2 separate regions of the Homo sapiens genome follow, and region 1 is linked to region 2. The links are contacts of gene promoters, found by promoter capture Hi-C in blood cells and fetal thymus (Javierre and others, 2016). All regions are on one chromosome and are shown on one strand. Each heading gives the region's core, a stretch centred on a gene start or on the middle of the fragment in contact. The rest is flanking DNA. Distances are from core to core; before and after follow the strand shown. Region 1 overlaps CSNK2A1 (casein kinase 2 alpha 1). Region 2 holds the start of RBCK1 (RANBP2-type and C3HC4-type zinc finger containing 1).

Evidence for each region. The method cuts DNA at HindIII sites, captures the fragments that hold promoters and counts their contacts. A CHiCAGO score of 5 or more calls a contact.
Region 1: a fragment that was not itself captured here is called in contact with the fragment with the promoter of RBCK1 in region 2 in 1 of 17 cell types (activated CD4 T cells); the score reaches 5.7 in activated CD4 T cells.

The regions. Positions count from the first base shown.
Region 1 is chr20:477,404-483,233 of GRCh38, forward strand. It overlaps CSNK2A1 (casein kinase 2 alpha 1), which reads right to left. Exons shown (of 14, transcript NM_177559.3): 14 at 1-5,830. Among named protein-coding and RNA genes, the nearest start is that of TBC1D20, 18 kb to the left of the region's middle. The HindIII fragment of the contact is 4,393 bases long and covers 1,180-5,572 here.
Region 2 is chr20:406,843-413,219 of GRCh38, forward strand. It overlaps RBCK1 (RANBP2-type and C3HC4-type zinc finger containing 1), which reads left to right and starts at 1,457. Exons shown (of 12, transcript NM_031229.4): 1 at 1,457-1,937; 2 at 3,039-3,183. The coding sequence starts at 1,916. RefSeq lists a silencer at 1,155-1,424 and enhancers at 1,402-2,044, 1,995-2,044, 2,045-2,685, 2,095-2,194, 2,255-2,354 and 1 more. The HindIII fragment of the contact is 13,745 bases long and covers 1-6,377 here.

The sequences.
Region 1 (5,830 bases), core at 2,126-4,625, 72 kb after region 2:
GGCTGGTCTGGGACTCCCGGCTCCCAAAGTGTTCCAACCACAGGTGTGTGGGCCTTCCGTGGTATCTTAACCTCATCACCCAGAGGCAACAACAGCTAGTATTCTTCTAGTTTTTACCACCCCCACCACCTCAATCCTGCCCCTGTAGCCTTTCCAAGTGCCACAGCATTGTTTCAGTTTCTATCTTAGAAAGCCCGGGAGTCTGTGTCCTATCTCCCTGGGGGCATTCAAACCCTAGTCCATAGCCTGAGGCCCACCTATACCCAGACCCAGTGTCTTGGAAGCACTGACTTTAATACCCACTTAGGCTGGGCGCAGTGGCTCACGCCTGTAATCCCACCACTTTGGGAGGCTTGGGCGGGCGGATCACCTGAGGTCGGGAGTTCGAGACCAGCCTGACCAACATGGAGAAACCCCGTCTCTACTAAAAATACAAAATTAGCTGGGCGTGGTGGTGCATGTAATCCCATGCCTGTCTCAAAAACAAAACAAACAAACAAAACAAAACAAAACAAAAAAACCCCAGTTACATTCAGGATGAATTCTGCCTTCCTTTTTGCCACCTTGGGATTTCCATTTCTTTCTCTGAAATAGGCATTTGCATTTTTCCTAGGATTTTTTTTTTAAAACAGTTGGAATTATCCCATATACACAATTTTTTCACTTTTCTAATTAACATACATTTCCCCATGGGCTTGTGTCTCACCTCTCAATCCCCAGTGTATAGCAAAGACCAGGCTCAGGGGCACTTACAAATGTTTGTTGAAACCAAAGACATCCTATATTACAGAAATGAACTTTGGAAAGACCAGTCAGCGTGGGTGGGTGAGGAATGCCAGAGACGGGAGAACAAAATGAGGTATACCGTCAGGTTTGAAGGGTTGAGGGTTATGGAGGGTTCTTCATAGGAAGTTCACCATGGAGTTCTTGGAACTGTTCAACACACAGAAGCAAGGTCCTCTCCTTCTAGGTATGGCTAGAAATGTTTATCAATAGCTGAGACTCTGATTCCCAGGGTGGGATCAGGAAGCCAGCCCCAGCTGCTGCAGCATTTTTTTCCCTTTTTCTCATTACAGGAGCCAAGAAAACTGTCAAAGCAGATGATGCAAGAGTGAAGCTGACTCAGAAATACTCAATCCCCCCAGGAACTTCTCTAAGAAATGGACTGACCATCCTGTAAGCTTCCATCTGGAGGTACCTGGGGAAGGGCTTCTCACATTGAGGCCAATAAGAATCCCTAGTGGGCCAGGTGTGGTGGCTCATGCCTCTAATCTCAGCACTTTGGGAGGCCAAGGCGGGTAGACTGTTGAGCTCAGGAGTTCAAGACCAGCCTGGGCAACACGGCAAAACTTCATCTCTACCAAAAAAAAAAAAAAAAAAATTAGCCAAGCATGATGGCTCGTGCCTGTAGTCCCTGGAAGGCTGAGTTGGGAGGATCACCTGAGCCTGGGAGGTTGAGGCTGCAGTGAGCTGTGATGGCGCTACTGCACTCTAGCCTGGGTAACAGAGCAAGACCCGTATCAAAAAACAAAACAAACAAAAAACTTCTAGTGAGTAGAGCGACAGGGAGACAAATCCAGTTTGTAATTTGCTACAGTGCAAAATATCTGGCTTTCCATAGAGGGAGTGGGAACAAGGCAATGCTGGCCTTCATTCAATCAGAAACTTGACTTGTACCCGTTGAAAACCTGTCATGTTTAATGCTTGGATATTTTTTCTTCTAGTAAAGACACTTTACTGCCACCTGCTGGAAAAGAGTCAGAAATTTTCCAAATGCAAACATCTATGGCCTCCCTATAATGTAGCATCCTTTTACTGTACATAGTCTGCACAACTGTACAATTTAGAAGAGAAACCAACATTTGGTGTAACTCTACCATATACCAGGCATCTGTCATAGAATCTGAACAACCGCTCTATGAAATCAGTACTTATACCCCAATTTAACAGATAGGAAATATTGGGACCTCTGGGGAAGGGAGGAAGAAGAGGGTATCACCAAAAAAGGGCAAAAAGGGGGCTTGGTCTGTATTGGCAATGGAAATTCAACTTGGGTGGTAGGATTATGGATGTGTTACAGCTTTCTTTATAATTTGGTACATGCCTAAAATGTTTTACAATAACAATTTAAATCACCTGTGAAGAAAAGATTCAGAGAGGTTAACTGATCAAAAAAATCACACTGCCAGACAGAACTCTGTTAGAGGTAGACCACTTGCAGTAACATTACATTGCTTCTCTAATGGTTAAATTTAGCACAGAATCAAAGGAGAGCTATAAAGTCTAGGAAGTACTTATTTACATAGGATTGAGTCCAGAACATCTTGTGACACCATCTACATATGTTTTACTTGGAGAATAGTCTGAATTTCGTATTACACGTTGAGCATTTCTAATTTGAAAATACAAAATCCTCAAAAATCTGAAATTTTTTAAGCATCAACATGATGCCTAAAGTAAATGCTATTTGGAATATTTCAAATTTCAGATTAGGAATATTGAACTGGTATGTATTCCGCAAATATTCCAAAAATCCAAAAAAATTCAAAACACTTCTGGTCCCAACCATTTTGGATAGGGGATATTCAACCTATATTACACACAGGTAATACAGCAGGGGAAAAGCAGGGAGACTGCAGCATCTAAGTCTACTAAATTGGCCAGGATCATTCCTTAGTCTTCAGATACCTATTTATCAGGGTCTCATTAAATAAAGTTACTTGTCATGTTAGTTCAGTCTGGCCTGTGGCTTGTAATTATAGCTGCAAACTCAAGGGCAAAGTTCTTAGGATTTTGAGATGCTCTTTATGCAACAATACTTCCATTTACTTTGTGTGTGTGTGTGTGTGTGTGTGGGTGGGTGGGTGTGTGTGTGTAGGGAGAGAAAGGGGGCAATGGAGTGGAGAGTGGAACTACAATTTATTAAGCACCTATTATTACAAGCCAAGTAGGGTGTTAAATATTTTCCTCGTGCCATTCCATTCAATACTCTTCGATCCTGAGGGAAAACGAACCCACTTAAAAAAAAAAACAAAAGGTTTTAATGAGGATTGCATAAGACATGCAAGGTCACCAGGGAGTTTACATGCAAGTGGGGAGATACAAAATAATACAACAAAAGTTCAGGTGTTCTGAGGAAAAAGAAGGGCAAGGGTAAGTGATGACAGTGGGGGAAGTCGGATTCAGGATAAACCAATTTTAGACTCATTTTTTGAGGAAGGAACTGAGCATGACCTTACCACACAGCCTTTTTAGTTAAGTGTTTCTTTAACTAGGAAAAGGCCCTGGGAAGACAGGCTCTCTACTATGCAAACCCAATTCCAGTCTTGGGAGAGAATTTGCTGGTGGGACAAAATCAGGTTTTTCAAGAGATGCTTAAATGGTCAATTCTAATTATAACCATACTTGTCAAAAGGTGAAGCAAAGATGAAAGTTAAAAACTAAGAAGAAATTAAAATTCCCAAATCTGTCAACCAATCTCTAATTTTCTCTGCTACTTTAGGACTATAGTAATTAGCCATACCCTGAGGATCTACTTTACAAGATATATTCCTCTGACAGTCCCACTCTAACAATTTAATCTATCTTATGTAAGCTGGACAGGCATTTCAAGTACAAGAAACAGAATTCAAAACGTGAAAACGGAGCCATCTATCACACACGGTGTCGGTTGGAGAAGCATATTGCTCAGGCTGCAGGGACATTTCATTTATTTAAATGTTTTTATTAAAAAAAATTAAAGACCTTCATGGCACAACTTCTTCCCAGCACAGTTATGGTTTAGTCATACCAATTACAATACAATTACAACCAATAAAGCAAGGTGGGGAGGGCCTTCTGGCTTCAAACTTAAAAAAAAGCAGAGGAAGAGGGGAGGGACCACTTCAAACAAAGTTTAAAAATACTTTAAAAAATCTTTCAGAGTAATTGCCAACATAACCTTTCATGTTGGCCATTCCATTTCCTGCCATCTAAGCAATGCAGACACAGGTAGTGCTGAGAAATAGTGTCCCAATACAAGGTATACAGATGAGGTAATTTACAACAACACGTAAGTTGTTACTCTGTAAACCCTTGCCTCCCCCCCACCCCCCACCCAATTGGGTCTTTTTTTTTTTTCTCTCTCTCCATGCTTCTGCAGTGACTCTTAAGTAGCATTTTTAAAAACTTCTATTTATTTTAAAAGGCTCTTGGGTGGCACCTCAGAGTCCTCTGCATTCACCTTCGGTTTATTCCAAGGTCTGATGGGTGTAAGGAGGTCCAGCTGTCTGCAGCTCTCCGCATCAGCCTAAGCTACACCTCAATTTCCGAGCTACAAGGATAGGGTATGAAGTCTTGATTTACAACCCTCTCCCCACCTCAAAAGAAAGAACTCATTAGTTATAAGTGTCCTGTTCAAATCACAATCCAGTGCAAACATAATCACAAATTGCATCTCTGGCACATCTGGTGCTTTTAGCTTCTGCACAAATTCAACATGGTAACCCTCACAGCATTCTAGGGCATAAAAGGGTCAAGTACAATAAATATCCACTGTAAGTGGTCATAAGGAAGAAAATCACCCTGCCACACAGTCAGAATGTTTTCCCTTCAGCTCTCCCTACCGTTGAGAAGCGCTATAAAAGGAGGCTTTAGCGTCCTCTAAAGTTTACCATTATATTCACTAAAGCCACCACCTTGATAAAGTTACTAAAGCCAAGATGGGTTACAAAGTTAGATAAGTTCATTAAATTCAACTCCCCAAACAATTACGTTTATCTATGATGCCTAGGCGAGAAAGGCCTGTGAATCTATAAGGTAGGAGAATGGGGAACTAAGATTTTAGGCCTTAAAATATGTTGGAAGAATTTTTCCTAGTTCCCACAAGCAGCTACTGTAATGAAATAACAGGAGAAAATACAGAGCTGATGGTTTTGCTATTGTGCTTAAAAAACTAGGCTTCCTCAGTGAAGCACCTGATAAACTTAGGTGGTTGGATTACAGTGGAAAGTCCACTTTACACACACACACAAACACACAAAAACTGGCGACTTTTTCCATCCCCAATCCCTGCACTGCTGAGACACAAAATGAGTTTTATGGCAAAGGATCCTTAATCCCCAGAGACGCTTTGGCTTGTGGTGCTTTTTTTTTAAGGCCTCTCTGCTCTGCCCGGTACCATGGGTCGAACGAGGGGTGTATAAAATGGGGGCCTTGGGAAGCCTCCACGGTACAGGGCTGCAGGCCCCTCAGATGTGAACATGAGACACCCACCCAGCAAGACCTTTACACAGGGAACTTAAATCTAACCTTGATAAATAAAACCAAACGTTTATTTACACCAAAGAATTCCAACACTGGATCTTTCACATATGAAGGACAAAGTATTATATATATACACACAGCAAGGGGTGGCGGGGCTGTAACAAGAGAGTTTATAGTTTTCCCACAATTACAGGTCTACCATTTCAGCTTCAATGGAGATAGTGGCTCTGCTCCTACCTCTCAAGATACATTTACAAGACTGAGGAGCAGGTCTTCTCACTGGATGGCATGTGAGGGAAGGGGACGGTCGGAGGAAAAGAAGGTAGAAAGCTTAAAATGGAAGTCAGTGTGGCCACATCTCCCATTAGCTCTAGCATGAAACCTGTACAGACAATGTTTGTTTCTTTTGTAAAAAGCAGTAAGTTATGCCCAGTAACTAAATGAATTCAAAATGGCCAAGACAAAGAAAACTAAGAAAGATTTTGCCTTCCCTCTCCTACCAGCTATGGAGCACAGCATGTTGGGAGATGAACAGGGAAAAGACCAAGGTAAGGAGCCTGGGAGGGAAGGTATCAACATTTTAAAC
Region 2 (6,377 bases), core at 207-2,706:
TTCATTCAACATATGGAGCCTCCATTATGTGTTTGGAACTGTTCTAGACACCAGGAACACAGCAGTGAGCAAAACAAACCAAAGTCCCTGCCCTCTAGGAGAGGAAAACAGACCCAGAATAACATAAATAAGTAAAACATGCTCCGTTAGACAGTAATAGATGCTGAGAAGAAAAAATGAAGCCAGGAAAGCGGATGTGAAATGCTGGATACGTGTGTCTGTGAAATTTCAGATGGAGTAACTAGGGAAGATTTTTGGGTAAAGACCAAAATAAAGGGAAGGAGGGAGCCATGCAGACGTTTGGGTTATGGCAGGTGCAAAGGCCTTAGGGCGGGAGTGTGTCTGACTTACTCCAGGACCCAGCAGGTCAATGGGACTTGAGTGGAATGAGGCAGGGGCAGGGCAGTCAGCTACGAAGACAGAGATCGGGAGGCAATTTGCGAGCCCTGGGACAGATCTCGGATTTTGCTTTAAGTGAGATGGGAGTACTTGGGTCGGGGAGTGGCATGGGTTTGATTTACATTTTAACAGGACTCTCCGGCAGCTAGGTGGAAATGGACGGTAGGGGGCAAAAAGAGAAGCAAGGAGGCCCAGGAGGAGGCTGGTTCAAGACCCCTGAGATGATGGAGCACTGATGGAGCTGGAGCGGGATGGGGCCGGAGGAGGTGAGGGATGAGATTCTGCAAGTGGAGCCCGCAGGATCTGCTGATCGATGGGACGAGGAACGGGAGAAAAATTAAAGCGGCGCATGAGGCAGACGAATGCAAACTTCACCAATAGCTCAACGAAAAGACAGACGGTGACCGCTGAGAGGCAGCGTCGGATCTGGGTAAGGGCGGGTTCCTGAGCCTGCCAGGCCTGGATTCAAACCTCGGCTGAGTGGCCTTGGACAGGTCATCAACAAACAGAGCCTTCGTTTATTCATGTGCAAACGGGGCCAAGGACCGGGCCTGCCCCGAGGTATGCCTGAGGCTTGGGTGAGCAGGCGCCGGGCTCGCAGGGCGCGCTCCTAACCCGTCCCCAGCGGCTCGACGCTGTGGATCCCGCCGCCCTCCAGCCCCGGCTCCGGCGCCGACTCCTGCTCAGGCTCCTGCTCCTGCCCCCGGCCCCGCCCCCGGCCCCGGCCCCGGCCCCCGGCCCACCCCGGCCCCGCCCCCAGCCCCCGGCCCCCCCGGCCCCGCCCCCGGCCCCGCCCCGGCCCCGCCCACCCCGCCTGCGGCCCAGCTCCTTCCCGCGGCTCTGCGATGCGGCCCGCAGGGTGACCCGGGCGGGAGTCCGGGGACCCGCGATCAGCCCCGGAGGACGGGGTGGGGTCGCCCCAAACAGGAGCGCCGGGACCGCTGGGACCCCGCACTCGGCGTCCGCCGCCGCCGGGTAGCCGGGCAGTGGAGGTCCCGGATGAGGCGACAATTTTTCCGGCCCCCCCTCCCAGTCCCGCCCCACTTCCGGGGCCGCCACTTTCACTTTCTCTTCCGCCGAAGCCGCTCCCCTTGCGAAGAACTGGGGCCTCCCGGGAGGAGAGAGGGCTTTGCCTTGAAACCCGGGACGCCAGGGGCGCTCCCGCAAGTGGGGGTCCTCCGGGACTTGGAACGCCCCGGCTGGGTGGTGTCCGGGCGTCCTTTCCCCGCTTCTTCCCACCTCGGCTGGTCCCGTTTCCTCCTGCGCCCAGTGCGGACCTGTCTCGGCGCCCGCTGCCCTCTCACCGCCCCACGCAGGATCCCGGCCTGGTCACCGGGCAGTGTGATGCTTCCCGACTGCCGCGGGGACAGCGAGGCACACACAGGGCTTGGGCCGCGCCGGAGGCCACACGGCCTGGCTGAGTTGCTCCTGGTCTCCCGCCTCTCCCAGGCGACCCGGAGGTAGCATTTCCCAGGAGGCACGGTCCCCCCCAGGGGGATGGGCACAGCCACGCCAGATGGACGAGAAGACCAAGAAAGGTGGGCACAGGCTGGAGGTGGCTGGGGAACTTCCGGTGGGAAGTGGGCCCCGCAGGACCTGGCCTTGCCCCTGGCCAGAAGGGCCTTGGAGAGGGGGCTTTAGCCTGCCCTCCCTCTACCCTCCTCCCCATCAGTTTCCTCCTTTGGTACCTGCTGGCTTCCAGAGCCATCTTGGGGCCCTGAGAACTCCTTGGGCTGGCTCTGTGCTGAGATGGGGCTAGGGGACTCGCAGAGGACACAGGGCATTGAACTTGGAGACCTCCTGGGCTGGTGGGAGACAGACGTCAGTTGACCTGAGAAGCAGGGGTACTTGCCTCTTCTCTTGTCCCCTGCACCTAGGGTTGTAGAACGGAAGTCAGTCACTGCCTTGCTGGAAACCCTCCCATGCCCCTCTGTGTTCTCCAAACAAAACCCAGAGGCCCTGGGTGGCCCACAGGATATCTGTCCTCAGTCACCCCGCCATGCTCACTCTACTGGAGCCCCACTGGCTTCCTTCGGTTCTCATCCAACCATTTTTTGGCCAAGGCCCTTACTCTTCCTTCCACCTGGACCACTCTTCCCCACTGGAGCTTGACACGTGCAGCTTCTCCTCCTTCAGGTCTTAGCTTCAGTGTTACCCCCTCCCAGAGGCCTCCCCTGGTCTCCTTAACCTGTTTATTTCCCTGCCAGCAAGGATCGCAATCTGACTTTTTTTTTTTTTCTTGTTAAACTTGTTCATTGTCTCCCCACTGGGCAGGGAGATCCATAAGGAGAGGGGCCCTGTTTATAAATCTCTGTGGGATTCCAGTTCCTGGGACAGTGGGTGGCACACAGTAGAAGCTCAATAACTGCTTGTTGGATAAATGAATAGAAATATGAGGGACCCTGGGAATGGGAAGGACAAACAACCAAATGAGCCTAGTGTGAGGAGGAGTGGGGAATATTAGAGAACCCCTCCCGGAGAAAGGGACTTTTAGTCTGGGTGCTGAAGGATACGTAGGAGTTCACCAGGAAGACAGAGAAAGCAGCACACACAAAGGATCGCCTCCTTTCCTACCCCATTACTCTCAGCTCCTGAAAATAAACCCTGTGCTAACTGGCTCCTGCTGTACTGGCTTTCAGCAGAGGAAATGGCCCTGAGCCTCACCCGAGCAGTGGCGGGCGGGGATGAACAGGTGGCAATGAAGTGTGCCATCTGGCTGGCAGAGCAACGGGTGCCCCTGAGTGTGCAACTGAAGCCTGAGGTCTCCCCAACGCAGGACATCAGGTGAGGAGTGCATGGCTGGCCTGAACCCAAGGGACAGCAGGACAGGATATTCTTGCCTGTAGAACAGTTCTTCCTAATGGCACGTTCTGGCTTCAGGAGGCCTGGCTTCTAACCCTAGTTATGTCATTAATCAACTGTGAAATACAGAGCAGGTCACTTCACCTCTCAGTGTGTCCTCATTTTAAAAATCAGACCGTAACAGTAGCTATCTCATAGGGTTGTTAGGAGGTGTACTGTATTAGGATGTTAGGCCTTATACAACAGAAGAAAACGGAACAGTGACGTAAACAAATTTGATGGCAGGGAGTCCAGATAGGGAGGTTCTGCTCCCGACAGTCCTCAGAGGCTCATATTGTTTCTCTCACCATTCTGCCATTCATTCCCAGATTCCTCATGGTGCAAAATGGCCATTCCAGCTCCATCCAGCCATCACATCACAGGAGGAAGGGAAGAAAGACACCCCTCCACACTCTTCTAAAGAGCATAGCTCAAAAATTGTACACACTTCTTCCGTTAATTCCTGTGGACCAGAACTGATTCCCACAGCTACAGTTCAGCTTGAGGGGAGACTGTATAGCCAAGATATTCAGCTAGAATTCAGGGGTTCGCTTGGTAAGGGAAGGGAAGAGAATGGATACTGTCGGTCTGTGCTCCAGGAGACTTAAACTCAATGCTGAAACACTTTGCACAATGCCTGGCGTGTTATGCACTCAATAATAAACATTAGTGTCTATCGTTATTTTTTGACTGCTTTTTCATTACTGGATAGTAAGGCAATAGTTTTATGGTTTCTGATTTTTGGTTCTCTTGGTGGGTCCCATTTGGTTTTTCTTAAAACAGTTTTATTTATTTATTTATCCTTACAGTTCGACCATTTAAAGTATACAGTTCAATGGCTTTTAGTATATTCAAGGTTGTGCAACCATTGCCACAATCAATTTTAGAACATTTTCATCATCCTGTAAAGAAACCTGGTACTCATTAGCAGCCAGTCCTCATCTCTCTACCTTTTCCCTAACTCCCCAACCTTAGGCAACCACTAATCTACTTTTTATCTCTAGGGATCTACCTTCTGGAAATTCCATATAAGTTGAATCATGCAATATGTGGCCTTTTGTATCTGGCTTCTTTCACTTAGGATCGTTTTCGAGATTCATCCATGTTGTAGCATGTCTAACAACTTCATTCCCCTTTTTTTTTTTGACATGGGGTCTCTTGTCTAGGTTGAAGTGCAGTGGTGCCATCATCGCTCACTACAGCCTCAACTTCCTGGATTCAAGCAGTCCTCCTGCCTTGGCCTCCCAGGTAGCTGGGACTACTGGCATGTACCACCACACCCGGCTAATTTTTTTTTTCTTTGAGATGGGAGTCTCACTCTGTCCCCCAGGCTGGAGTGCAGTGGCGCGATCTCAGCTCACTGCAAGCTCCACCTCCCAGGTTCACGCCATTCTCCTGCCTCAGCTTCCCGAGTAGCTGGGACTACAGGCGCCCGCCACCACGCCCAGCTAATTTTTTGTATTTTTAGTAGAGACGGGGTTTCGCCGTGTTAACCAGGATGGTCTCCATCTCCTGACCTCGTGATCCGCCCGCCTATGCCTCCCAATGTGCTGGGACTACAGGCGTGAGCCACCACACCCAGCCACACCTGGCTAATTTTTAGAAAGTCTGTAGAGATAAGGTCTTGCTTTGTTGTCTGGGCTGGTCTTGAACTTCTGGCTTAAGCAGTCTTCCCACCTCAGCCTCTCAAAGTGCTGGGATTACAGGTGTGAGCCACCATGCCCAACCAGAACTTTATTCCTTTTTATTGCCAAATAATAATCTATTGTATAGACATATCTCATTATCTTTACTCATTAAATCAGTTGATGGACATTTGGGTGTTTCTATTTTTTGGCTATTATAAACAATGCTGCCGTGAACATTTGTGTCCAACTTTTTGTGTGGACACGTTTTCATTTCTCTTGGATACACACTAGCAGTGGAATTGCTGGGTCATACAGTAACTCTATGTTACTTTTTGAAGAAATGCCAGACAGTTTTCCAAAGTGGCTGCACCATTTTACATTCCCACCAGCATATATGAGGGTTCTAGTTTCTCCACATCATCTCTAATACTTGTTGTTGTTTATCTTTTTGATTATAGCCATCCTAGTAAGTTTGAAGAGGTATCTCACTGTGGTTTTGATTTGCAATTTCCTAACCATTTGATGACAAATGATGTTAAGCATCTTTTCATGCACATATTTTCTTTGGAGGTTTGCCTATTCAGGTCTTTTGCCCATTTTAAAATTGGGTTTATCTTTTTTTTTTTTTGAGATGGAGTCTCGCTCTGTCACCCAAGCAGGAGTGCAATGGTGCAATCTCGGCTCACTGCAACCTCCGCCTCCCAGGTTCAAGTGATTCTCCTGCCCCAGCCTCCTGAGTAGCTGGATTACAGGTGCCCACCACTACACTGGCTAATTTTTGTATTTTTAGTAGAGACGGGTCTTACCATGTTGGCCAGGCTGGTCTTGAACTCCTGACCTCAGGTGATCCACCCACCTTGGCCTTTCCAAAGTGTTGGGATTACAGGCATGAGCCACTGCACCCGGCTGGGTTTATGTTTTTATATTGAGTTGTAGGAGTACTTTATTCATTTTAGCTAGAAGTACTTTATTCATTTTAGCTTATCAGCTACATGATTTGCAAAAATTTTCTCTCATTCTGTGGATTGTCTTCTCACTTTGTTGATGGTATCCTTTGAACCACAAAAGTTTTAAATTTTGATGATGTCCAGTTAGTCTATGTTTTATTTTGTTGTTTGTGCTTTTGGTGTCATATCTAAGAAATCGTTGCCTCATCCAAGGTCATGAAGATTTACCTCTATATTTTCTTCTAAAGATTTTATGGTTTTAGCTCTTACATTTAGGTCTTTGGTCCATTTTGATTTAATTTTTATATAAGGTGTGAGGTAAGGGTCCAGCTTCATTCTTTTGCACGTGGATATTGAGTTGTGCCGGCACTATTTGTTAAGGCTGTTTTCCTCTGTTTAATCATCTTAACCCTTTTTGGAAATTAATTGACCATAAATGTGAGTGCTTATTTCTGGACTCTCATTTCTATACCATTGAACTATAATATATATCTGCCCTTACGCCAGTACCACACTAATTACTATAGCTTCATAGTATTTGAAATCAGGAAATACAAGTTCT